3 separate regions of the Homo sapiens genome follow, and regions 2 and 3 are each linked to region 1. The links are contacts of gene promoters, found by promoter capture Hi-C in human tissues and cell types (Jung and others, 2019). All regions are on one chromosome and are shown on one strand. Each heading gives the region's core, a stretch centred on a gene start or on the middle of the fragment in contact. The rest is flanking DNA. Distances are from core to core; before and after follow the strand shown.

What was found. Contacts are between HindIII fragments. The study calls those that stand out against the background at their distance.
Region 2: a contact is called between a fragment that was not itself captured here and the fragment with the promoter of GPR26 in region 1, in 2 of the 25 tissues and cell types used here (adrenal gland and mesendoderm cells).
Region 3: a fragment that was not itself captured here is called in contact with the fragment with the promoter of GPR26 in region 1 in 2 of the 25 tissues and cell types used here (H1 embryonic stem cells and mesendoderm cells).

Annotation. Positions count from the first base shown.
Region 1 is chr10:123,663,980-123,667,733 of GRCh38, forward strand. GPR26 (G protein-coupled receptor 26) reads left to right here and starts at 2,376. Exons shown (of 3, transcript NM_153442.4): 1 at 2,376-3,096. The coding sequence starts at 2,429. RefSeq lists enhancers at 1,584-2,121, 2,122-2,660, 2,661-3,198. The HindIII fragment of the contact is 11,073 bases long and covers 1-3,754 here.
Region 2 is chr10:123,711,212-123,714,782 of GRCh38, forward strand. It overlaps LOC105378532 (a long non-coding RNA gene), which reads right to left and starts at 2,276. Exons shown (of 5, transcript XR_946421.4): 1 at 2,237-2,276; 2 at 2,023-2,124; 3 at 1,403-1,478. The HindIII fragment of the contact is 3,748 bases long and covers 60-3,571 here.
Region 3 is chr10:123,613,453-123,617,019 of GRCh38, forward strand. No RefSeq gene overlaps it. Among named protein-coding and RNA genes, the nearest start is that of GPR26, 51 kb to the right of the region's middle. The HindIII fragment of the contact is 3,152 bases long and covers 355-3,506 here.

The DNA.
Region 1 (3,754 bases), core at 1,126-3,625:
TTAAATGTTTAACCACAGGCTGGGGTGGGAGAAGCCCTGATCTATGGAGTTTGCTGATTTCTATAATGCAAAAACTCATTGTGGTGGATTTTAAGCAACCAACATGCTGTCACTGAAGCAGAGATGGAGAGAGATGCCCATAATGGGCCCTTTTGAGCTGGTGTGAGCTGGCTTCAGAACTCCACTGTCTGCAGCTGTCAGTCACTCAGATAACTGTCAATGAGTGTCATCTGTGGACACACAGAGAAGAGAGGGAATCTTGTTTCTGCCCTCCTGACACCTCATTTCATGAGCATTTAATAAAGTTTGGATGTTTGTCCCCTCCAAATCTCATGTTGAAACATAATCCCCAATGTTGGAGGTGGGCCCTGGTGGGAGGCGAAGGCGATTGGATAATGGGGGCAGAGCCCTCATGAATGGGTTGGCACCATCCTGAATGACTTCTCAGTCCATGAGAGATATGGTGTTTAAAAGCCTGGGACCTCCCCCTTCTCTTTCTGGCTTTCACTCTTGCCATGTGACATGCCTGCTCCCACTTTGCCTTTTGCCATGATTAGAAGCTTCCTGAGGCCCTCATCAGAAGCTGAGCAGATGTTGGAGCCATGATTGCATACCTTGCAGAATCATGAGCCAATTCAACCTCTTTTCTTCATCAATTACCCAATCTCAGGTATTCCTTTACAGCAAAGAAAAATGGCACAATACAGCATCTACAATGTGCTTGGTACTATGTGAAGGAGATAATTAAGTATAATGAGGTCTCTACCTTCAGGGCGTAGAGTCCACCACGTCCTTGCTTGGCTTACTTTATCTAGTGGCTTGAGGCCCAGGAATGTCCAGTCACCACTGGCCACACCAGGAGGCTCCAGAACAGGGCTTTCTATGTCCAGGACAGGGATCTGAGGTTGCTGACATGGTGCAGGGGGTCACTGCAGGGCAGCATCTCACAGAGTTGAAGGGGGCTGCAGGGGTTCTGAGAGCTGCCCCTGCCTGTCCATCCCCACCCCTTCCCCACAGAGTCTTGGTTGAGAACCGAAGGGCCACAGTCCCTGCACACTTTGCTGAGGGGAGGCAGGGGTCCCCTGTGTCCAGGGTCTCTGTTGCTTGGACCATGCCTGCCAGCTGACACCCTCCCCATTTTCTGAAGAGTTCTGGCACCTTATATCAGGCAGGTCCCTCATAAACTAGAATGTGCTGCCTCACCAGTCTCAGGGCAGAGGGGTGTGTGGCTTCAGGGCTACAGGAGGCAGCTGCTGGAACTTGGAGCAGGACAACAGAGTATCCACCATACTAGGGTTAGCTGTCTAGGCTGGTTGTGGACAGCCTGGCTTGCCCAGGTGGGAGCAGTCAGGGTCAGCAAAGGCATCTCCCAGCTGGAGAGATGCCCAGGGGATGTTACAGAGAGCCTCGGGGTCCCTGCAGCAGGCTTAGGATTCAGCCGAAGCTCTGGCTGTAGGGCGAGGGAAAGAAGGCACTGAGAATCGAGTAACCTCAGTCATGCAGCAGCTGTTCTTGGGACAGACAGGCTGGGACACTCACGTCAAGGTCTGCCAGGATAGCATGCAGGCGGGGACAGGTGGCACTGGGGCGTGAAGGTGTCCAGGCATCCCTTCCTTTTCTCAGAGAGATTTCCTTGACTCAGCCTGTCTTTGACACACACGGGGGGATGGAGGATGTTGGGGGAAGGGAGCCACAGTGAGCCAATCACCCTGCACCGGAGCCTTCGGGGCTGGTTCCCTCCGAGCCTGTAAGTGTGAGTGTGTGTGCGCGAGTGTGTCTGTGTGTGCACCAGTGGGGATTTCTGTGATAGAAGCAGCCAGATTCCAGAGACAGAGAGAAGAGGAGGGGGAAGAACAAGAGAGGGGAGAAAATTGGGGGTGGGAGAGACAGACGGAGAGAACAGCGCGGGGGGCGGGGAGAGGGAGAGAGGTGGAGGGGAGAGCAGAGAGAGAGAGAGCGAGCCAGAGAGCAGAGAGGGAGGAAGAGAGAAAGCAAGAGAGCGGGAGGGTGCGCGGAGCGGAGCGGAGACAGAGCTCGCGGGCATGGGGTGAGAGCGGGAGGAAGCAGAGGCAGAGGCGGAGCAGGGGCGCAGGTGCCTGCAACCCAGGATCCCGGGGCGCTAAAGGCTTCGGGTTCTACCGCACGCTCAGTCGCTGGCTCCAGAGGTGCTGCTGGGGGCCAGGGTTCACTGCCGCGCGCCAGGTGCCTGCCCGTGAGGCGGCGCGGGGCTCCCGGGTGGCTGCGCGCCCAGACGCCTGCCCGGGAGGCCGCCTGAGGCTCCGGGGTGGCCGCGCGCCCTCCTGGGAGCCATGGCGGCTGGGGCCGGTGGTCGCCGGGCGGCGGCGGCGCCGAGGGGCTGAGCCGGCCGCGGGCAGCGCCATGGCGGCGCCGGGTTGCGGACCCTGAGCGCCGGCGCGGGGCGCGCACCATGAACTCGTGGGACGCGGGCCTGGCGGGGCTACTGGTGGGCACGATGGGCGTCTCGCTGCTGTCCAACGCGCTGGTGCTGCTCTGCCTGCTGCACAGCGCGGACATCCGCCGCCAGGCGCCGGCGCTCTTCACCCTGAACCTCACGTGCGGGAACCTGCTGTGCACCGTGGTCAACATGCCGCTCACGCTGGCCGGCGTCGTGGCGCAGCGGCAGCCGGCGGGCGACCGCCTGTGCCGCCTGGCTGCCTTCCTCGACACCTTCCTGGCTGCCAACTCCATGCTCAGCATGGCCGCGCTCAGCATCGACCGCTGGGTGGCCGTGGTCTTCCCGCTGAGCTACCGGGCCAAGATGCGCCTCCGCGACGCGGCGCTCATGGTGGCCTACACGTGGCTGCACGCGCTCACCTTCCCAGCCGCCGCGCTCGCCCTGTCCTGGCTCGGCTTCCACCAGCTGTACGCCTCGTGCACGCTGTGCAGCCGGCGGCCAGACGAGCGCCTGCGCTTCGCCGTCTTCACTGGCGCCTTCCACGCTCTCAGCTTCCTGCTCTCCTTCGTCGTGCTCTGCTGCACGTACCTCAAGGTGCTCAAGGTGGCCCGCTTCCATTGCAAGCGCATCGACGTGATCACCATGCAGACGCTGGTGCTGCTGGTGGACCTGCACCCCAGGTGAGCCGAGCGCAGCTAAGGCTCTGGGAACAGCCGCGCGGGATCTCGGCGGGAGTGGGAGGTCCCTAGCCCCAGGGGCTCTTTTCCACCGAGCCTCTGTTTCTTCTGAGAACTCGAGGGTGGGGAAAGCGGCCCAGCTGTGGGGCTTAAGGAGGTGCTTAGGGTATCAGCAAACCAGGGCCACAAAAAATGCGGGTGAGCCCATCTATACATCGGTTTTTGAAGCATCAGGGTAGAAATCACAGACAGTCAGAACTCTGTTGGGCTTCTTCATGCACATTTTCTGTGTTTGTAGCTTTCACTTTAAATGGCACATGGGAAGTCCGTGGTCTTTGTTCCCTATTAAAGACCTTCAAAGTGTTTGATTCTGGCCGAGAGGGCGGCCTCGATGCTTAGGGAGCTCCTTAAGAGCTTTTCAGACCCAAGTGTGTCGCTTCTCTGAGTCTTTCCCTTCTCGGGTGTGTGGCGCTGCCTCTGTCTCACGACTGTGTGTGTGTGTGTGTGTGTGTGTGTGTGTGTGTGTGTGAATTCTGATGGACTCGGGCTGCGTCCTTCTCTGTGGTGGGCCCTGAGGGGTGGGGTGGGGGGCTCTTCCTGCCCTCCCCAGAGAGCACTGTCCAATGTCTGCCTGACTTGGTGCCTAGAGGCTCCTGCAGAA
Region 2 (3,571 bases), core at 684-3,183, 47 kb after region 1:
TTTTGGGATTTATTAATTTGGATGGTGAAAAAACATTTCTTTGTTTTCACTAACCTGAAATGTAGCATTCCTTCAATCATGAATGTGACACTCAAAAGTAGTATTAGCAGTGCCTATGACTTTGTCACTAATAATAATCATAGATATTTTAATATCACATTACAGTTGCAGAATTCTAAAAATAGCATTTCTGCTCATCACTTCAAAATTACAGCAATATGAGTTGGTTGTCAGATCTTGTGTTGAATGCATTAATAATGAAGCACACATATTAATATATGACACATTCGTTTACTAAAATATTCTTGTAATTGCACTTTAAGGTAGTGGGTTTCCTTTCTAATCCTATATACATTGTTTTGTGCATTGTAAAATATGTTTTTGAGGAATCCATGACAGAGAAGAGATTCCGAACCTCTGCACTGGGTCAATGGTTTTCAAACTGCAAGAATAATCTGAGCAGTCATGGGTCATAAAATCAACTAGCAGGTTGTGACAGCCCTTTTAATTTAGGAAAAAACATGAATAAAATAGAAAACATCAGAGTACGTCATGTACTAAAGATACATCAAATCTTTATCATTGTGTGGTAAGTGTGTACCAGTTGAAATGTTTAAAAATCATGAGCCTAGACAGCAAGGGTTGTAAAGACAGGAATCATGTCTATATTTTGCTCATCATTGCCTATCTCTGTAGTACTTAGAACAGTGCTTGAAGGTAGTATGTGTATTTGACTTCTCCAGAAAGATAGAATCAATAGAAAATATAGACATATGAGAGGAGATTTATCAGGAGAATTGGCTCAGGCGATTATGGAGAGGTCCCACAATAGACCATCTGCAAGCTGGAGACCCATGGATGCCACTAGTGTGGCTCAGTCCAAGTTCGAAGGCCTCAGAACCAGGAAAGCTGATGGTGTCACTCTCAGTTCATGGACAAAAGCCTGAGAACCCAGGGAGGGCTGGTGTAAGTCCTGGAGCCCAAAGGCCGAGGAGCCCAGAGTTCTGATGTCCAACGGCAGGAGAAGAAGGGTTTCCCAGCCCCAGGAGAGAGAGAGAGAGAAAGAATCCACCATTCCTCTGCCTTTTTTTCTTTCCGGGCCTCCAGATGACTGGATGGTGCCTACCCACATTGACGGTTGATCTTCCCCACTCAATCCACTGACTCACACACCAATCTCCTCTGGAAACACTCTCACAGATCCACCTAAAATTAATGCTTTACCAGTTCTCTAGGTATGCCTTAATCCAAACAAGTTGACACCTAAAATTAACCATCGTGATCGGTGCTCAAATATCTGTAGACTAGAGAAATGAAAAACCAAAGGGTAATACCCATATGTTACATTTCTCCATCAAAAATGGTTATAAAGCCATTCAAGAAAGATTCTTTGAGTACTTACTGTGGGCTGGGGGATGCGCCTGGCAATAGAATTTCAATAGCGAAGAGTCTCAGTTTATCCTCATGAAGCTTTCAGTCTAGCAGAATAAACAACTTCATTCAGTTTGGGCCAAAAAACAACAACAACTACAACAACAACAACAGAAACCACCAAAACTGTGAGTCTAAGGTGTTAAACACATATTTTCTGGGTACATTCTGTTTACAAAGACACTGAGGGGGGCTTGAAGATGCAGGTCATGTGGCCTTTTATGTGGAGGAGCCCATGGACCCTGATGAGAGAGCAACCAGGTTCCCATGCGGCCAAAATGCAAGGCAGAGAAAGCCAAGGGTCACAGAGGAAGTCCAGCAAGAAGCAGCACTCAGCAGCTACCAGAGAAATTCCAACAAGCACATATCTTAGGACAATCATCACCCTCTTGTACAATATGAGAATTGCTGACTGTTTTAACAGCAGTCATCCCCTCCTGGCTCAGATGCTACTGTCATCTGGCTGTCCAGCTCCATCTTTCCCTTTTTAGTCCAAATATTAAACATTTCTTACTTTTTGTACATTCAAAATATCTACACTTGTCTAGACATTTTGTATTTCATTAACTCATTTCTTTTTATACCTCATACCTTCTTCCTGGGGTTAGTTCCCTTCTTCTTGAAATATATTCACTAGAAGTTCCTCAGTGGGGATATTTTGGTGGTAACAGGGTCAGGACTAGAGTGAGGCACCTGGGAGGTAAAATTAAAGTAAATGTGTCTGTATTAGTCTGTTCTCATGCTGCTGATAAAGACATACCCAAGACTGGGTAATTTATAAAGGAAAGAGGTTTAATTGACTCACAGTTCCATATGGCTGGGGAGGCCTCACAATCATGGTGGAAGATGAAGAAAGAGCAAAAGCACATCTCACACGGCGGCAGGCAAGAGAAAGCTTCTGCAGGGAAACTCTGCCTGATAAAACCATCAGATCATGAGACTTATTCACTAACACAAGAGCAGCATGGGAAAGATCTGTCCCCATGATTCAAACACCTCCCACTGGGTCCCTCCCATGACACATGGGAATTGTGGGAGCTACAATTCAAGATGGGATTTGGGTGGGGACACAGTCAAACCATATCAGTGTTAACCCTCACTCTCAGGCACTAACCCTGAACTTCACATCACTGAGAATGAGTCCTTCTCAAATTTTATGTTCCTGGCACCTCACTTGCCTCACCTAGTTCCAGCCCTGGGTGGTAAATGTTCTGTTTTTATCTAAATGTAGGTAATTCACTCTTATTCTTGAAAGCCAGTTTCACTGGCTGTACAAGGTTAACGTTCTTTTATTTATCCAAAGATGTTTTTCCACCATCTTCTGGTTTCCAAAGATGATGGAATAATATTTTTGCTGCTATTGAGAAATCTGCTCCCAGTATAACCATTTTTTTCTTTTGTTAGTAATTTGTCTCTTCTTTCAGGCTGCTTTAAGCCATTCTATTTGTCTTTGGTGTTGAGGTTTAACTGTCACACATCTAGAAGTGGATTCTTTTTAGCAGACCAGCTTAAAGGATTTAGGAAGTCAGATTTTTTTCCTCCCATTATTTGCAGAAAATGTTCAGCAGTAATCTCACTGAGTATCATTTTTTCCCCACTCTTGCCACGATCTCCTTTGAACTTCAAAACCTATCTATTGACTAGCCTTACTTTACCTTCTACACATCTTAATTTCTCCTTTATATATTTTTTTATCTCTTTTTGTCCCTCTGATGGTTTCTGGGTAAATCCTTCAGATCTATCCTCCATTTCACAGTGATCTCTTCTGCTATGTCAATTCTGATCTTAAACTTCTCCATTACGATCTTAATTCCTATAATTATATTTTCAATTTTCAAAACTTACTCTTGCTTCTGGTCATTTTTTATAGTCTCTTGTACCTTACTTATGTTAACAGTGCCTTCTGTATATACTTACTGTATATTTGGAATTCATACTTTCATTATTAAGTGTCATCGTAGCTCTGTTCTGTTATATGTTGTTTGGTCTGACTCTGGCTCAAAGGGCTTGTCGTCTTGCTATTTTGTAATTATTGTAAACAGGGGACTCAAACTTACTGGCAGTCTTTTTCTGGGAGTTCTGAGTAACCGCATAGTGTGTCCTTCCTGGGAGGACTTGTGTTTGTTCCTGCCAAGCTCTT
Region 3 (3,567 bases), core at 681-3,180, 51 kb before region 1:
GACAAGATTCCTCTCGACTACATCTCCTCCTGATAGAAGCGTCAGGAAGCCCTGGCATTGTCCCCCCAGCCTTCAAAGCACACCTGAGGAACAGTGAGAACAGCACACAGGCAACGCCTTCTGACTTTGGCCAAGAATGGTCCTGCGAGACATCATGGGTCACTGCTCGTGTTTCTTCCCACACATCCCTTGTCTGGCACCTGACATCAGGCGGATGACTCAGCTTCAGAGGCTAGAACAGGCCTCCAGCAGGAAGCAGGAAATCTGCAGAAAGGCTGCTTCACTAGCATCCTGGGGCTTGGGAAGGAGGTCAGCCCTATTTTTCACAAGCCTACCTCCAACTGTGAGTTTTATTAGTAACCCAAAATATTATATGTGATTACCTGTGGGCCTTTGACAACAAGAGAGGGAAAGGTAACCTCATTAAGTCCTCTATCTTTAAATGTTTGAAAAATGTGACCCACTCAGAGGGATCTCAAATTCTGCTTCATTGAATAAGATGAATCTTGGCACGTAAAAAACACTTAAATCGCTTGACAAAGTTTTGCTTATTTGCTGTTGAACTATATATATTTTTAACAGCCAAGTAAAACCCCAAAGTGGTAATTGCCTTAAATCACCTTCATGAAAATGGGGAAAGAATCTTTCTAGTCTGAGTGAGGCTCTGCTCCTGGGGTTGAGGAAGATTTGAGGCTTTGCTTGAATAATTTTACCAAGTCTACTTGAAGTGGAAGATTTAAAAATTTCAGCAATTGTTAGTTTATTGGCATCATTAGATGAAACCCATTCAGCTGTTTGTTAGACGTTAGCTGACTTGTTCCCTGCTCTAAAATCTGTCAGGTGAGGCAGGCAACATTCTCCACTTGGTACTTTACCAGGGTGGAGGCTTTGGTTGATGGCCCCCAGCAGGCTGGCTGTCTTGGAGGAGAGACCTCCAGAGTAGAGGCATGGGGTGCAATGCAGGCCACTGCCCCATACTGAGGATTGACCAGGTCGATGGTGGCCTGAGTCCAGATCACATCAAGTGATCCCCCTGCCCAGAATTTCAAGGCTGCAATGAGCTACAGTCATCCCACTGCACTCCAGCCTGAGCAACAAAGTGAGACCATGACTCTGAAAAAAAAAAAAAGCTTTTGATGGGGCTTTGCCTTTACTTTTTCTCTGGGAAATACTTGAACAGTGACCCAAACTAATTCTTAAGAATTTGGAAAAGATCAGGAAATAGAAAGGAAGTTCATATTGATTGGTTTTCTACTGTTTTAAGCATTATATGTGCCATGTGCCAGTTTTTTCACATTTATTATCTAATTTTACTCTTCAAAACCATGTTATTGTTACCACTTTTCAGATAAAGAAAGTACAGCTTCAAAAATCTAAGCCATTTGTCCGATGCAGAACAGCATTTGACAACTATGGAGGTGACTCTGATGACCTGGCTCTACCTCAGCATGGGGCCCTGTGTCATTGATAAGTGTGGTATTAGCCGCCTGATTCGCTAACCCACAGTTCAGAGCAGGGGTGGGCCAGGCAGATATTAGAACAGAAATGAGGACCAAGACTTGCTTAAATAAGCAGGCAGCAAGCTCGGTGAGCAGACAGGATCCAGGTGACGCGGTGCAGTAATGTGGGGTTGTGGTCAGCACCATGGACAGCTCCCCTGTTGCTTCATATTGAGGAATAGGAAAGCGCCGCTATCTCCGGATCCTGGCTAGCTCCAGCCACTGCAGGTAACTGTCTTGAATGGGCTTAGAAACATGGTGATGTCTGCAGCGAAGGGCTGGCAGTGGATGTGGGCTCTGCCTGGGCGATTCGGGTCTCTGCGGGCTGGTGATGGAGATGTTCTTTCAGGTCTCTGTGCTTTTTCTCACTAGTGTCCACTTTGTCCAGGGCCTAGATCGCCCCTGGGCTCAGGCAGAGATCCAACTGAGAGCCCCTTCGCCAAGATCTTAGCACACATAGTGTCAGGAGCTCCTGAAAAATGTTTAACATTGATAGAAAAAGTGGGATGAGTAACAAAAGAATCTTTAAATTCCCCAAATGGAAAAATGTCATCTGGCTACAGATCTTTAAACAATATTTCTAAATCTCTGCTTCAAATACTCGCAAAGCCTGGAAAAGAAACAACCCGTCACAACAATATTGAGAACTAAGATTGATGTTATGTGAGGTAAGGCCAAAATCTGCCAGTATTTGTAAGGGATATGAAGCTTAAACAGCAAAACCTAACCAGGCTTTGTCCAGCTTTGTCCAGCAGAAAAGCAAATCTCTGGCATTTCCCAGGCTCACCTGGAAAGAGGTTGGTGGCTCACTGTGCAGCCCTGGGTTGCTCATTTCCAGGAAGTTTCCCATCCTCTTCCACTTTCCTCCCAGAATACAGAACTAGGGAAGAAACCCTTACATCAAGCAGAATTGATGCACATTTATCCCTGATGATGTGTTAAAACATTTGCAGGCATCTGTGCCCCATGCATTTTTTTTTGCAGTAGCTCCATGAAGACACATTTAGAGCATATATAAGAGTTCTTCAGTTGCATAACAACATGAATGTACTTAATGCCACAGAACCTGAAAATGTACACTTAATAATAGTTAAGATTGTGCTATGGTCTGAATGATTGTGTCTCCCCCAAACTAGACTGTTGAAACCTAATGACCAACGTGATGGTATTAGGAGGTGGGGCCTCTGGGGGGTCCCTCATGAGTGGGATTAGTGCCCTTATAAAAGAGGCCCCAGAGTGCCATCCATGAACCAGGAAGAAAGACCTCCTCAGACTCCAGATTCACTGACATCTTGATTTTTGACTTCCCAGCCTCTAGAACTGTGTGAAATAATTTTTTTTTCTAGATGAAGTCTTGCTATTGTTCCCCAGACTGGGAACAATACCATTGCACAATGGTATGATCTCCACTCACTGCAACCTCTGCCTCCTGGGTTCAAGCAATTCTCCTGCCTCAGCCTCCTGAGTAGCTGGGATTACAGGGGTGCGCCACCACACCTGGCTAATTTTTGTATTTTTAATAGAGATGGGGTTTCACCATGTTGTCCAGGCTAGTCTCAAACTCCTGACCTCAGGTGATCCACCTGCCTTGGCCTCCCAAAGTGTTGGAATTACAGGTGTGAGCCACCATGCCCGGCCAACTTCTGTTGTTTTTAAGCCACCTAGTTCATGACGTCTTGTTACAGAAGGCTGAACAGACTAAGACAGTGGTAAATTTTATGTTGTGTATATTTGATCACAATTTAAAACTACAAAAATTTTAAATAAAAGCAAAAAAAAAAAGGAGTCCTTCAATTAGTTATTGCTGTGTAACAAGCCACCGCAAATTTTCGTGGCTTAAAATAGCAACCATTTTATTGTTTGTGATTCTATGTTTGTGCAAGACTTGTGGGGAAGGTTCCTCTCTCCTGCACTTGGTACCAATAGGGCAGCTCACCTGCCACCAGAGAATCCAAGGTGACCTCACTTGCATGTGTAGGGCTTGTCTGGCTCTCGGACAGAAGGCTGTGGTTCTTTTTCATGTGGTCTCTCTCTATTCATGGACTCTCATCACTCAGCAGTCTAACCT